Linked DNA regions of Homo sapiens: region 1 is linked to region 2. The links are contacts of gene promoters, found by promoter capture Hi-C in blood cells and fetal thymus (Javierre and others, 2016). All regions are on one chromosome and are shown on one strand. The core of a region is centred on a gene start or on the middle of the fragment in contact, and the rest is flanking DNA. Distances in the headings are between cores, read along the strand shown.

Region 1 (4,312 bases), core at 939-3,438, 830 kb after region 2:
TCAATTAATGACTCCCCAAGACCTATGTCATCCAACTTAAATATTTTCACTCAGTCTTGTTTCATCTGTATTTCCACCTATGTTGTGCATTTGAGACCAAGATGTTGAACTCTAGAGTCCATGCTCTTAACTTTTACATTATGTTGCCGCTTGTCTACACATCAGTATCTTTCCTCTACGTGCAAGCAATACTAAGTTTGCAAACAAAACAGAAAAAGTTCGTATGTATTCACAAAAAAGCAAAAAAAAAAAGCCTTATAAGTAAATTTAGTAAGATAAATATGTCATCTGAAGAAACCCTCAAAACCTTACTGAGAGAGAAAAATGGACAAATAGAAATGCTGTGTTGCTAGCTGTGTGTTGTAAAGATGTAAAATCTTGCAGATTGATCTGCAAATACAAATATGACAAAATCAGAATGGGATGCTTTGAGTGTTAGGTCGTCTTCCTTTTTTCACTTCATTTATTTTTCTGCTAATTGTTTAAGATATTCAGAAAATAGGCCAGGCGCAGTGGCTCACACCTGTAATCCTAGTACTTTGGGAGGCTAAGGCAGGCCAATCATGAGGTCAAGAGTTCAAGACCAGTCTGGCCAACATGGCAAAACTCTGTGTCTACTTAAAAAATACAAAAATTAGACAGGCATGGTGATGCACGCCTGTAATCCCAGCTACTCAGGAGTCTGAGGCAGAAGAATCGCTTGAACCTGGGAGGCAGAGGCTGCAATGAGCCAAGATCACGTTGCTACACTCCATCCTGGGCAACAGAGCAAGACTCCATCTCAAAAAAAAAAAACAATTTTCAGAAAATAAAGCGTTAGTACTATGTAATGTAAAACTGACTTTGTTTATCTGTCTTTTGTTTAGTCTTTTTTATTTTCTTTCACAATGAACAAGGTGGTAATGTTTACTTCCAGGAACCTATAAATCCTGACTTAACCTGAATATTACAGGGACTTTAGAAGAGTTACCACTGCTGGGCGCAGTGGCTCACGCCTGTAATCCCCACACTTTGGGAAGCCGGAGCAGGAGGATCACTTGAGCCCAGGAGTTTGAGACCAGCCTGGGCAACATGGTGAAACCCCGTCTCTACAAAAAATACAAAAATTAGCTGGGCCTGGTGGCACAAGCTGTAGTCCCAGCTACTCAGGAGGCTGAGGCAGGAAGGATTGCCTGAGCCCAGGAAGCAGAGGTTGCAGTGAACCAAGATTATGCTACTACACTCCAGCCTCAGCGACAGAGCCAGACCCTGTCTCAAAATAAATAAATGAATAAATAAAAATTTTAAAGAGTTACCACTCAGGAACATTCTAGAAAGATGCCTATCTAATCTAGAGATTTATCTGTCAACTGTCGGGAAGAGCTGAGACCAAAGTTTATATTAAGATTCTGTTTATTGGCCATGAATTGGATAAGGGCTCAAGATACAGTGAAGAGCAAGAAGATTATGAATCCATTTACTATAAATACTAGAAAACAAAGTAAGAGTAACGAGAGGGTAAAAGGGCATGATCTGTCTCTAGGATGTCAGGGGGAGGGGGACATTTCTTGGCAGGGAAGAGGAAAGTTCTCAGGGTTCAAATAGGGTGGTGTTTCTGGTACTACTGAGTGCAACCCTTAAGATCCTAATTCCGGTCTCTTGTATCACATCTAATGATTAATTTTTAAAATCTGAATTAATGTTATCATCATTATGATAGCCATTCAGCTCCAAGGATAGCAACAACGCATTCTGAAAACTCTTCATTTCCAGGAGTTTTCAGTGTTGGTTTCCCCCTGTGTTAACAGTCCTTTTTTGTCTCCTTTGCTTGATCTCTCCTGTAAACATCAGAGGAACCCAGGAATCAGCTGTCAGCCTGTCCCTTGCCTTGTCTTCATCCACTCTGCTTGGGGTTGACATAACAGGCCTATTGCTCAAACTCTGTAAGTTCCCCAGAAGGTCCTGTTTTCCTGACTAGCCTTTGGGCAGCTCTGGGAACTGAGCTCTCATAATGTTCTATCTGGTAAGAGTGCTTTTGTTTGCCTGAGGCCTTGAGCCATGCTGTACCACTTTGTCCAGATGGTTTATACTAACAGTGTAATTTATGGAGGAACATCTGCTTTCCTTCTAGGAGTCTGGAGCTTCAGTGACTGACCCTTTATAAAAACCATGGACACCCAGGTTTAGGTGAGCTTCCCTCGATGGCAATGCTTCACACACGTTGTCACACATCATTGCTGGGGGATTTCCCATGTGCTGTGGTTTGGATATTTGTCTCCTCCAAAACTCATGTTGAAACTTAATCCCCAGTGTGGCAATATTGAGAGGTGGGGGTTTTTAAGAGGTGATTGGCTCATGAGGGTTTTGCCTTCATGAATGGATTAATCCATTCATGGACTAATGGATTAACGGGTTATCATGGGAGTGGAACTGGTAGCTTCATAAGAAAAGAAAGAGAAACATGAGCTAACATGTTACCACACTCAGTCCCCTTGGCATGTGATTCCCTGCACCACTTCAGGACTCCACAGAGAGTCCCCACCAGCAAGAAGTGCTCTCACCAGATGCAACCCCTAGACCTTAGACTTCTAAGCCTCCATAACTGTAAGAAATAAATTTCCTTTTTAAAACAAATTACCCAGATTTAGATATTCTGTTATAGGCCAAAGAAAGCAGACTAATACACCATGTGACTCCACTGAAAGAGAACACTTGGAAGCTGGTGCAGGGTATCCTCCAGACTTCACCCCATGCACCTTTTCCCTTTGCTAATTTTATTCTCCATCCTTTTGCTGTAATAAACTATAACCATGAGTATAACAATTGGGTCCTATGAATTCCTCTAGAAAATCTTTGAGCATGAGGTGGTCTTGGGGACCCCCCTGACAGAGGAGCTCATCCAGCCCCATAACTTTAAGTCCCACTGACAACTCTCAAATGTGTATCTCCAGCCATGATCTGTCTAGATTTTTATGAACAATTGCCTACTTGATTCTGCAACTGATTCTTGACATGTCTAAATTCTTGACATGAAGCAAATTCTTTATTTCTCTCCTTATCCCAAAGTTTCTCAGAAAGTGACCTGCCAATCATCCAGTTGCCCTGGCAAGAAACCATGGAGATATCCTTGTCTCCTAACTCTCTTTACCTTCAGCAAATCTCATTCTGACTCTCTCCGCCCCTGCAGTTCTCAGGATTCTAAGCATTTCATGCCTACCTCTCCTCAGGAGCCTCAATCCCTCACTTCACTACGTGTTTTCTCCTTTTATTAAGAGCTCTTAATTTCTTAAGAGCTCCTTGTTCCTTATCTTCTATCATGATTTGAAAAGCCACTTCTTCTCTGACACCTGTCTTTGTCCCCTACTCCTCTCTGGCTGACTCAGACTCACTCTTCTCTCTGGAGTCCACCAACAGTGTTTGCTCATCCTCAGCCTGCAACTATGATATCCTAAGCTGTTCAGTCTCAAACCTTGGTCCTCTAACTCTAGATCCACGGGCTGTCATTTTTACCCTTACTATTGCTTTGAAAAAAAATATGAGTCAAAATCTAAGATTCTATGGAAGCCAGGGCCTGACCAACCCATTGCAGTAGAACATCACAAGGTCTACAGAGATGACAGAGAATGACTGGCTTATAATATGCACTTAATAAATGTCATTAAATATATGATCAAGCATGGTTTCTCTAGGACTCCTGGAGAAAAGATCTCTGCTTCCATTAGACGGAGGGGTTGATTTGGATGTAAGTGTTGGGCTCTGGATTCACAAGCTCCTGTTAAACAAAGAGAAAATGTGAGCTCCATTTGCTAGGTGGACCCTCCCAGTCTACTCACTGTAGTCTGGGGCCCAAACAGCCTGGAGCTTTCCTTTCTTTGGAAATTCCAAAAATCTTCCTCCATTCTCATCACACTTTAGTAACCCTGGCACATCTCTGTTCCTGGAATGGCCCATGTACTTCCCCACTGTGGTAAACAGACTCTAAAGTGGTCCCCATAATCCCTGCCTCCTGGTATTCATTCCTTTATGTAATCTCCTCCCCTTGAGGGCAAGACCTGTGACTTGCATCTAACCAATAGAATATGGCAAAGGTGGCAGGATATACATGATTGCATGTATGTGATTCTGTTACATAAGATTATGACTTCTGTCTTGGCTTGAAGAAGCAAGATGCAATGTTGTGAGCTGCCTGTGGAGAGGGCCACATGGCAAAGAACTGAGGATGACCTCCAGCTGACAGTAAGAAACTGAGGCCCTCATTATGACAGCCTGCAAGGAACTGAATGCTGCTAATGACCACATGAGCTTGGAAGTGGATCCATCCCCAGCTGAGCCT
Region 2 (4,612 bases), core at 473-2,972:
GAGGCTTTAGTCCCTCCCTCTAGCTCCTCCTTGAGATTCTAACTTCGCCCTTTAGCTCTCCCCGCCCCTAGTTTTCCCCTGAGGTCATAACTCCGCCCCAGTCCCTTCTTGAGGTTTCAGCCCCACCCTGTAGCTCCTCCCCGAGGTCGTAACCCCCGCCCCTTGGCCCCTTGAGGTCCTAGCCCAGCCCCGTAGCTCCTCCCCAAGCTTATAACCCCGCCCCTAGCCCCTCCTTGAGGTTCCAGCCCCGCCCTCTAGCTCCTCCCCGAGGTTATAATCCTGCCCCTCAAGAGTCTAGTCCCACCTTCTAGCTCCTCCCGAGGTTATAACTCCGCCCTCTGGTTACGCCTCGAGGTTATAACCCCGCCCTCTGGCTCCGCCTCGAGGTTCTAGCCCCGCTCCTAGCTCTTCCTCGGTCTGTAACCTCTCCCGTAGCTCTTCCTTGAGGTTCCAGCCCCGCCCTCTGGCTCCTCCCCGACACTCTCTCCCCGCCCCAGGCTCCGCCCCGAGATTGCAGCCCAGTCCCTAGGCCCGGTCCCCGACCTCCGGGCCTTCCCGGACATCCCTTTCCAGCTGCGCGTTCGGAGTATCCCGGAGCTGTTACTCATTCCCGGCCTCCCGCGGTCTCGAGCGCTTTCCGGGTTATTCATCGCGGCCCCAACACCCTGTGGCCACCCGCCCTGACTCAGTTCCTTCTCGAATTCCTCGACCCAGAGCCCCCCACATTTTCCGGGGAAGTAAGTGAGAGTCGCCTCAGTGAGAGGGAAAGGTCCTGAGGGACAGTCCCGGGTCTCCAGCACTGGCTCTGCGCCGCTCAGTCAGCCTCCCTTTGGGCCTTTTGTAAAAGGGGGTCCTGTCCCCCCGTTTCTCAGAGGGGGAGACCCAGCAGCGTGGAGAGCGCTGGGGGGCGCTGCAGGGTCAGATCCTGCGTATTCAAGCACTGGCTGTGTGATTTTAGGCCAGTTATCTAACCTCTCTGTGCCCTAGTTTCCTCTGCGAAACGAAATTAATAAAGTCCCATCGCCTAGTTTGAAATTGCAAGGAAGAGGCTTCGAAGAACTCCATTTAAAAAAAGAACACTTGGGCCGGGCGCGGTGGCTCACGCCTGTAATCCCAGCAGTTTGGGAGGCCGAGGCAGGTGGATCATCTGAGGTCAGGAGATTGAGACCATCCTGGCTAACAGAGTGAAACCCGGTCTCCACTAAAAATACAGAAATTAGCCGGGCGCGATGGCAGGCGCCTGTAATCCCAGCTACCCAGGAGGCTGAGGCAGGAGAATCGCTTGAACCCGGGCGGCAGAGGTTGCAGTGAGCCGAGATCGCGCCACTGCACTCCAGCCTGGGCGACAGAGTGAGACTCTGTCAAAAAAAAAAAAAAAAAAAAAAAAGCACTCACTAAATTATGTAAAGCTAAATGCCTTTGCTCCACTAATATTTCCTTAGCTACTGAGTGCCAGGTACTGCGCCGCGTGGCGTTGCACAAAGCACGAGAATTACTATTATTTGATTAGGGAGGATGCTGAGGACTGAACCGCATTCCTCCAACTCATCCTCTGACAACCCCCAACCCCCTCAATTAGACCCTGTTCCAGGCGCAGGCGTTCGGGACCCAGCCCCTACCTGGGACGCAGGTGTGGAGCAGCAGCAGCAGCGGCAGCAGCGGCGGGTGACCCATGTCGCGAGGGCAGCTCCTGTGCGCGGGGTCCCTGCACGTCTTCTCTCCTTCTGGCCTCAGGAAGGAGGCAGTTTTGTGGCCCCAGGGACTCCTCCCAGACGTTTTGCGAAAGAGCGAGTCAGCCCCAGATGCGTGGGCGCCTCCCCCTCCTCCCGTACGAACCTCCTCCGCCACAAACTTCCCTTCCCGGGGCGCGGCCGGCTGGTGGTGAAGGGGCTGGCTCGGCCCTGACTCATGGAGTTGTGATCACAGCTCTGTCCCCAGATTGCCTGGGTGCAAATCCCAGTTCTCTCTCTTCCTAACGTGGGACCCGGGGCAATCGCTCTCCACTGCTGTAAAATGAGGATAAAAACTTTGACGGTAAATATGAATGTGGCTGATTATTTGGCTAACAGGATTTTTGTTAGTTTTGTCAGGAGGGATACTGGTATTTTGGAAAATGTCCTTATCTAGAGATGCATCCTGAAATATGCATCTCTTAAACACTTAAAACACTTAACCCTTGCTTTGCTTCCCGCTGTGCCCCCAGCTCCTGGACCAGTGCCCAGCACGAAGTAGGTCCTTGGTAAATGTTAAAGGAATGTGTTGAGCCCTCCATTTTGGCCAGCAGCTATTCCAGGCATTGCACCTACATTAAAACACTTAATGGTGAAACCCCGTCTCTACTAAAAATACAAAAATTAGCCGGGCGTAGTGGCGTGTGTGTGTTACTTAGGAGGCTGAGGCAGGAGAATCGCTTGAACCCGGGAGGCGGAGGTTGGGTTGCAGTGAGCCGAGATCGTGCCACTGCACTCCAGCCTGGCAACAGAACAAGACTCCTTCTCACAGAAAAAAAAAAAAAAAAAAAAAAAGACACTTCAGCCAAAAAAGTAGATATCACTGTTACGACAATGGCTGTATGCTTAGGTGGGATTCTGGTTTTTGTTTGTTTGTTTGTTTTTGCAGATGCTTACTAGAGTATTTAGTGGTGAATGTTATTGATGTCTGCATTTTTTGTTGTTGTTGTTTTGGGGATTTTTGTTTTGTTTTTTCTTTTTCTTTTGTTTTCATTTTGATGTCTGTATTTATTTTATAATATTTTAGAAGAGGTCAGATGAGGTGGCTCATGCCTGTAACACCAATGCTTTGGGAAGCCAAGGCAGGAGGATCACTTGGGGCCAGGAGTTCAAGATCAGCTTGGGAAACATAAAGAGCCCTCATCTTTCCAAAAGAAATTAAAAATAAAATAAAATTAGCTGGGTGCAGTGGCCCGTACTTGTAGTCCTAGGTAGTTGGGAGGCTAAGGTGGGAGGACCGCTTGAACCTGGGAACTGGAAGCTGCAGTGAGCTATGATTGCACCACTGCACTCCAACCTGGGCAACAGAGCGAGACCCTGTCTCAAAAAAATAATAAATAAATAAATACTTGAGTAGAAAATAAAGGCAAAATAGCCAAATGGTTGTATCAATTATATAAAGGTAATCAGTATATAAGGGCATATTATGCCATTCTGTCTCCTTTTCTGTGGGTTTGAAAAGGCTTATAATAAGTTTTTTCTTTCTTTTTATTATTTATTTATTTATTTATTGAGACGAAGTCTCACTCTGTCACCCAGGCTAGAGTGCAGTGGTGCAATCTCGGCCACTGCAATCTCCGCCTCCTGGGTTCATGCAATTCTCCTGCCTCAGCCTCCTGAGTAACTGGGATTACAGGGGCACGCCAGCACACCCGGCTAATTTTTGTATTTTTAGTAGAGATGGGGTTTCACCATGTTGGTCAGGGTGGTCTCGAACTCCTGACCTCAGGTGATCCACCTGCCTTGTCCTTCCAAAGTGCTGGGATTACAGGCATGAGCCACTGCACCTGGCCAAGTTTTTTTTTTTTTTAAGTAAAATAAAATACTAAAGATAAAATTGTCTCCCCGTCTTAGGATGCATCTAACTAAACAGAGCAATTTAATGTAGGTGCAATGCCTGGAATAGCTGCTGGCCGAAATGGAGGGCTCAACACATTCCTTTAACATCTACCAAGGACCTACTTTGTGCTGGGCACTGGTCCAGGAGCTAGGGGCACAGCAGGACGCAAAGCAAAGTTCCCACCTTTTGTTGTGTTGACAGTGGGGAGCAGATATGTGTTATCTAATCTTTCACTGTCTGAGAGGGATAAGCAAACTGGAGAAAACAAAGCAGGCTGAAGGAAGTATCTGGGTGCAAATGAGGTGTGAGCTGTTTTAGGTGGGTGATCCAGGAGGGGTTCCCTGAGCAAGTGGCATTCAAGCAGAGGCTGAATGCAGTGAGGGAAGAAGTAGGGCAGATGGGCAGGGAACCTTTCCAAGGAGCAGGAACAACCAGTGCAAAGGCCTTGAGGTGGAAGCCTGATGAGATTCTAGGAACAGAAGAGATGTCAGTGTGGCTGGAACAGATTAGGAGAGGAAGAGAGTCGTAGGGGATGAGTAAGTGGTAGCTACTTCTACTGCTGTAATAATGATTATACTATGTGATTTGTTGTCGTTGTTGTTGTTGTTTTTGAGACAGAGTCTCACTTTGTCTCCCAGGCTGGATGCAATGGCGTGGTCTCGGCTCACTGCAACTTCCACCTCCCAGGTTCAAGGGATTCTCATGCATGCCTGGCTATTTTTTTTTTTTTTTTGAGTCGGAGTTTCTTTCTTGTTACCCAGGCTGGAGTGCAATGGCACGGTCTCGGCTCACTGCAACTTCTGCCTCCCAGGTTCAAGAGGTTCTCCTGCCTCAGCCTCCTGAGTAGCTGAGATTACAGGCATTCTCCACCATGCCTGGCGAATTTTTTGCATTTTTAGTAGAGATGGGGTTTCACCATGCTGGCCAGACTGGTCTTGAACTCCTGACTTCAGGTGATCCACCCGCCTCAGCCTCCCAAAATGCTGGGATTACAGGCTTGAACCACTGCGCCCAGCCCTAATTTTTGTATTCTTAGTAGAGA

The links. The method cuts DNA at HindIII sites, captures the fragments that hold promoters and counts their contacts. A CHiCAGO score of 5 or more calls a contact.
Region 1: a contact is called between a fragment that was not itself captured here and the fragment with the promoter of PLAUR in region 2, in 1 of 17 cell types (erythroblasts). The highest score is 5.5, in erythroblasts.

The regions. Positions count from the first base shown.
Region 1 is chr19:44,502,464-44,506,775 of GRCh38, forward strand. It overlaps CEACAM20 (CEA cell adhesion molecule 20), which reads right to left. Exons shown (of 12, transcript NM_001102597.3): 12 at 3,696-3,751. The coding sequence ends at 3,698. Among named protein-coding and RNA genes, the nearest start is that of ZNF180, 4.1 kb to the left of the region's middle. The HindIII fragment of the contact is 5,114 bases long and covers 1-4,312 here.
Region 2 is chr19:43,668,447-43,673,058 of GRCh38, forward strand. PLAUR (plasminogen activator, urokinase receptor) reads right to left here and starts at 1,723. Exons shown (of 7, transcript NM_002659.4): 1 at 1,620-1,723. The coding sequence starts at 1,674. LOC124904724 (a long non-coding RNA gene) reads left to right here and starts at 318. Exons shown (of 3, transcript XR_007067264.1): 1 at 318-737; 2 at 1,580-2,034. RefSeq lists silencers at 222-451, 492-571 and an enhancer at 1,492-1,791. The HindIII fragment of the contact is 10,236 bases long and covers 206-4,612 here.